2 separate regions of the Homo sapiens genome follow, and region 1 is linked to region 2. The links are contacts of gene promoters, found by promoter capture Hi-C in human tissues and cell types (Jung and others, 2019). All regions are on one chromosome and are shown on one strand. Each heading gives the region's core, a stretch centred on a gene start or on the middle of the fragment in contact. The rest is flanking DNA. Distances are from core to core; before and after follow the strand shown. Region 1 overlaps TMUB2 (transmembrane and ubiquitin like domain containing 2). Region 2 holds the start of FZD2 (frizzled class receptor 2).

What was found. Contacts are between HindIII fragments. The study calls those that stand out against the background at their distance.
Region 1: a fragment that was not itself captured here is called in contact with the fragment with the promoter of FZD2 in region 2 in 1 of the 25 tissues and cell types used here (stomach).

Annotation. Positions count from the first base shown.
Region 1 is chr17:44,191,576-44,194,379 of GRCh38, forward strand. It overlaps TMUB2 (transmembrane and ubiquitin like domain containing 2), which reads left to right. Exons shown (of 4, transcript NM_001076674.3): 4 at 1-354. It overlaps ATXN7L3 (ataxin 7 like 3), which reads right to left. Exons shown (of 13, transcript NM_001382309.1): 13 at 230-2,804. The coding sequence ends at 2,688. Among named protein-coding and RNA genes, the nearest start is that of ATXN7L3-AS1, 5.9 kb to the right of the region's middle. The HindIII fragment of the contact is 9,798 bases long and covers 1-2,804 here.
Region 2 is chr17:44,556,170-44,559,162 of GRCh38, forward strand. It overlaps FZD2 (frizzled class receptor 2), which reads left to right and starts at 1,315. Exons shown (of 1, transcript NM_001466.4): 1 at 1,315-2,993. The coding sequence starts at 1,520. RefSeq lists enhancers at 1-579, 580-1,347, 1,565-2,525 and silencers at 1,022-1,121, 1,520-1,766, 2,012-2,061. The HindIII fragment of the contact is 9,533 bases long and covers 1-2,993 here.

The sequences.
Region 1 (2,804 bases), core at 305-2,804, 360 kb before region 2:
GCTGTAAGCAAGAGACAGCACTGGCCCTTGGCCAGCGTCCTACCCTGCCCAACTCCAAGGACTGGGTATGGATTGCTGGGCCCTAGGCTCTTGCTTCTGGGGCTATTGGAGGGTCAGTGTCTGTGACTGAATAAAGTTCCATTTTGTGGTCCTGCAGCCTCTTTCTGTGACAGAGAATGGCTTTGCGCTGCCCCCAGGAAAATGGTAATGAGAGTAGGTAGGCCGGGGCTACCAACGGGAGATGCAGTTTATTTACACCAGCAGCCATGGGGGCAGAGGGAATACACAGCGTTTACAAAGTTAGCTACCTGTACAGAATGGATTACATATGCAAAAATAAAAATCTCAAGACCACAGGACAGCGTGAGCCCCACCCCCCTCCCCCAATGACCCCAGCATGCGGTAATGCCAGGCGGGTGGCCCCTGGGCATGCGGGGGGGAGTGATGCATGGAAGGAAAAGCCACCGGCCATGGAAATTAGTACAGAACCCCCCCACACACACTCAGACACAGGATACAGGGTGGACGACACCTAGCCGGGGTGGGAAGGATGGGAATTGAAACCCACACAGCCTGCTGTTAGAGGGAGGGGAGTGGGGAGCTCCTAGCCCCTGTTCAACTACATGGTAGGGGGGGCACTCTCTCCCCAGAAGGAAAAGGGTTTGTTCCCTCAGGGTCCCTGCTGGACCAAGCCCATCTCTTACCCAGCCTGGGCAGGGGGCTCTGCCCTGAGGGCGGGCCAAGGAACAATGGGGAAGTTTATGTGGACAAACCAGTTCCCAAGCTACTTCCCACTTCTCCCTCCTCCAACCAGAAGGGGGGAAAAGGGAGAGGCCACAGGGCAAAGAGTGTATTAGGGCCTGAGCTGCAGCTGCCTCTCAGAAGGGAGAGTGGCCCACAGCCTTCCTCCCTTCACCTTCAGCCCACTCCCCAGACTGCATCTGGAAGCGGCTAGAGGCCTGCTGAGATCCTCCTCTCCCTCTGGCCTCCTCTCGGAGGGAGACTACGGAGGGCCAAGAATAGAGAAGCCCAGGCCCCGGGATTTATTCTAACTCCTGCCAAAATCTGTTTGGCTTTTTAAAAAATAATCACAATTTGTGGGTTAAAAACCAATTTGCAACCAGGCATGAGCCACAATCAGAACCACCCCAGCGGGAGAGCGGAGTTCCAGACAGGGCATTGCAGCCCCATCTCTGTTGTTCCCTTAACCCTCTAGGGTCCCTAACCCGATCAGTCCAACCAGTCCTGGGTACTAACTACCCAAATGTGGGATGGCTCCTCTTGGGAAGAGGGTAGGGGACATGTCCAGCAAGTGCCAGAGAACTTGGCTCAGGGTCACCTCCACCCATGTCAGTCAGCTCTGCTCCCAGCCCAGGTCGCGGTCCTCCAGCTTGGCTCCTGGGAGTGGTGGTGCCCGCATGGAGGGGGGACGGTACATCTCTTTAGGATGTAGACCAGGCAGGTGGGCACACTGGCATGACAGTCCCACAGAGGGGCAGTGACACCCCTTCCCCTCCACTGACAACCTGGGGCACAGAGGCCACCCTCTCTTCCCACCCAACTCCTAGCAAAGGGGGAGAGGCACAAGATTAGGATTTTCCTCAGAGCCCCAAACCACAAGTACAGAATAAATAACTTAAAAGCGCTAAGGAAGGGAAACAGGGCACGCTTTGGAGGCAGGAGCGCTGAGAGGAACTGAAGCCAGTCAAGGTGAAGGGGGTGGAAGCAGCAGTTGGGAACCTGGGCTGCCCCGGTAGGGCAGTGGGGCAGGGTGGGCAGGAGGAACACGGGGCCACCCCAGGAGGGTGAGGCTGGGTCCCTTCCTGGGGCAGGGAATGAGGTAAGAAAACATTTCAAATAAAGCAGCACCGTTCCCTCTCACCTTGGGGCCCCACTCCTCACCAGCCCTGGGTCAGGGAGGAGAGGCAGGGGGAGGAATTCTGACACTTCTCCCTCTTCCTACCCTCCCTTTCCCATTCCTTGAAGCTGTAGAGGCTGGAGGCCCTTTCCTGGCACCCAACAAAAGGACAGCTCCTGCTGCCAAGGAGGCCCATGGGGACTGAGGGGAAAGGGCTGCCCCTGTGAGGGGCAGGGAAGGTGGCGGCAGTTCTGGACGCCCACCTCAGCAGACAGCACTCTGTGCCTGCCTACCCCTGGGACTGGGGGCATTTGATAAGATTCTGCACACAGACAGGACATGCCCAGCCTTGCCCCTCAGCTCCAAGCACCGGACCCATTCACATTGCTGAGGGCGGCCGAGGCAGGCCCCCTCCAGGCTCAGCTTCCAACCCACAGCCTCCCGGGTCGCCACATTGCCCCTCAGCAGGGCTTAGTCCAGTTCCTGGGGTGGGGGGCAGGCAGTGCCCTGGCACAGTGCCCAGGTCAGGCCCCTGGCCTAGCTGGACATCCAGTAACTCACAGAATAAATAGGAAAACCGCCTCCCCACCAAACTTATGTCCAAGGCATAATATGTCCAGGTCTGAGTCCTGCACGCCGAGGAGTCGTGCTCCATTGCAGAGGACTTTGACACCCCCCAGGGGCGCATAATCGGATCCTCTGCCTGCCTGGCCCACCAAGCTTCCCAAGCCCCAACCCCCAGCAGCCGTCCATTTGCCAGGCTATGCCACCTGGGTGGGGGTCAGGAGAGAGGGCTCTGCTCAGCCAAAGGCTATCCCTTGCACCCAAGTCAGTTGATGTCATCATAGATGCTGGGCGTCGGGGGTGCCGGTGGCTTTGGCTTCTTCTTCTTGTTGGAACCTAGGCCGGAGGCAGTCCCTACCAGGCTCAGATGGGATTTCTTTTT
Region 2 (2,993 bases), core at 65-2,564:
CACCCCTTACCAGGTGAGAGATGTGGAGGGGATAATTCACCACAACCCCCCAGTTTCCTCCCGCGTCACACACGCCACCCCTCTCTGGTGTGGAACCACTTAAGATTTGGGTAAAACTCCCCTCTCGCCCTGGAGACGGGATCTGGAAGCTTTTAGGGGGCGGAGGTAGAGGTGGGGAGGCAGAAGGAAAATTCCCTCAAACGTTCGTCAGGCCTAAGAGAGTCGTCCCTTCACTCAAAATTGCCCGTCACCCCCCGCCCCCCACCATTAACTTTCGATTAAGACCTCCTCCTTAGGGCAACTAAACTTTACTTTGCACAATTAAGATTTGCCGCAGAAGAAGCGGGAGGGAGAAGCCGCAGCTCCGGGCCATTCTCCTTTCCCTCGCTCCCTCCAAGCCCCCCGCCCCAACCCTCCAGCTCCGGGCCTCCGAGTTCCTGAGTTTTCTCACTTTGAGGTGCCACCGAACACAAAGAACCATAATGGGCTCCTTTGTGTTGGCTACGGGGCAATTACGCCTCGGAGTCCTGGTCCCTTTAAGAGTCTCTTAAAGAGACAGGATCCCATTTTTCAGAGGGTTTTTTAAGGGTGTGTGGAGGGGGAGGGCGAGGGATCTACGTGTAAAGTGAAGTGAAACTTTCGCCTGGGCTCCAGAAAGAGCGGACAGAAAAGGTCTTTGTAAATTGTTAGTTTTTTTAAAGTCTGTTTTAATTTTTAAATTTGAGATTTTTCACTCGATTTGAAAAATTGGACTAGGAATAGGTGGGGTTCGAGGATCGGGGGCGGGGGCAAGGGTTTAAAGAGTCCCCACCCGGCAGAGCACCTCGGCCCGGGAAGAGGAGTGAGCCAGGGTCGAGTAGTGTCCCCCGATCTCGCCGCGGCAACTCCGGAGAAATCCCGGGCTGGGCAAACAGCCCTTAATATAATAATAGCTTGTCTCTTTAAAAAGCAAAAGGGGGGGAAAGTTTTGTTGGCATCTGGTTTCTGATCTCATTATGTTGTGGTCGACCAATCCAGCCCTCGGGCCTGGTCCTCGGGTTTAAATCTGATTGGCCGAGAGCACATTTTGGGTTGGTGCTTAGAGCTCGACGGGGCGGTTTCAAGGATCCCTTTTTTGGGGGGCTGAGGAGAGGGCGGGGCCGCCAGCGGGGGCCCCCTTGAAACCGACTAATTGGGATCGGAGAGGCCGAGGTGAGGGCTGGAGGAGGCACAAAGAAGTCGCTGGGTGCAGAAGGGAGGGGAGAGGGGGAGCTGAGAGGCGAGAGGAGGAGGAAGAGGAGAGAGGGCAGCAGCGCGCGGTGTCTCCGGCTGCTCAGTCCGACCGCGGCAAGCAAGCGGGCAGGCGCACCGCCCCCTCCCCCGCCCGGCCTCCCCAACTCTGCGGCCGCGAGTAAAGTTTGCAAAGAGGCGCGGGAGGCGGCAGCCGCAGCGAGGAGGCGGCGGGGAAGAAGCGCAGTCTCCGGGTTGGGGGCGGGGGCGGGGGGGGCGCCAAGGAGCCGGGTGGGGGGCGGCGGCCAGCATGCGGCCCCGCAGCGCCCTGCCCCGCCTGCTGCTGCCGCTGCTGCTGCTGCCCGCCGCCGGGCCGGCCCAGTTCCACGGGGAGAAGGGCATCTCCATCCCGGACCACGGCTTCTGCCAGCCCATCTCCATCCCGCTGTGCACGGACATCGCCTACAACCAGACCATCATGCCCAACCTTCTGGGCCACACGAACCAGGAGGACGCAGGCCTAGAGGTGCACCAGTTCTATCCGCTGGTGAAGGTGCAGTGCTCGCCCGAACTGCGCTTCTTCCTGTGCTCCATGTACGCACCCGTGTGCACCGTGCTGGAACAGGCCATCCCGCCGTGCCGCTCTATCTGTGAGCGCGCGCGCCAGGGCTGCGAAGCCCTCATGAACAAGTTCGGTTTTCAGTGGCCCGAGCGCCTGCGCTGCGAGCACTTCCCGCGCCACGGCGCCGAGCAGATCTGCGTCGGCCAGAACCACTCCGAGGACGGAGCTCCCGCGCTACTCACCACCGCGCCGCCGCCGGGACTGCAGCCGGGTGCCGGGGGCACCCCGGGTGGCCCGGGCGGCGGCGGCGCTCCCCCGCGCTACGCCACGCTGGAGCACCCCTTCCACTGCCCGCGCGTCCTCAAGGTGCCATCCTATCTCAGCTACAAGTTTCTGGGCGAGCGTGATTGTGCTGCGCCCTGCGAACCTGCGCGGCCCGATGGTTCCATGTTCTTCTCACAGGAGGAGACGCGTTTCGCGCGCCTCTGGATCCTCACCTGGTCGGTGCTGTGCTGCGCTTCCACCTTCTTCACTGTCACCACGTACTTGGTAGACATGCAGCGCTTCCGCTACCCAGAGCGGCCTATCATTTTTCTGTCGGGCTGCTACACCATGGTGTCGGTGGCCTACATCGCGGGCTTCGTGCTCCAGGAGCGCGTGGTGTGCAACGAGCGCTTCTCCGAGGACGGTTACCGCACGGTGGTGCAGGGCACCAAGAAGGAGGGCTGCACCATCCTCTTCATGATGCTCTACTTCTTCAGCATGGCCAGCTCCATCTGGTGGGTCATCCTGTCGCTCACCTGGTTCCTGGCAGCCGGCATGAAGTGGGGCCACGAGGCCATCGAGGCCAACTCTCAGTACTTCCACCTGGCCGCCTGGGCCGTGCCGGCCGTCAAGACCATCACCATCCTGGCCATGGGCCAGATCGACGGCGACCTGCTGAGCGGCGTGTGCTTCGTAGGCCTCAACAGCCTGGACCCGCTGCGGGGCTTCGTGCTAGCGCCGCTCTTCGTGTACCTGTTCATCGGCACGTCCTTCCTCCTGGCCGGCTTCGTGTCGCTCTTCCGCATCCGCACCATCATGAAGCACGACGGCACCAAGACCGAAAAGCTGGAGCGGCTCATGGTGCGCATCGGCGTCTTCTCCGTGCTCTACACAGTGCCCGCCACCATCGTCATCGCTTGCTACTTCTACGAGCAGGCCTTCCGCGAGCACTGGGAGC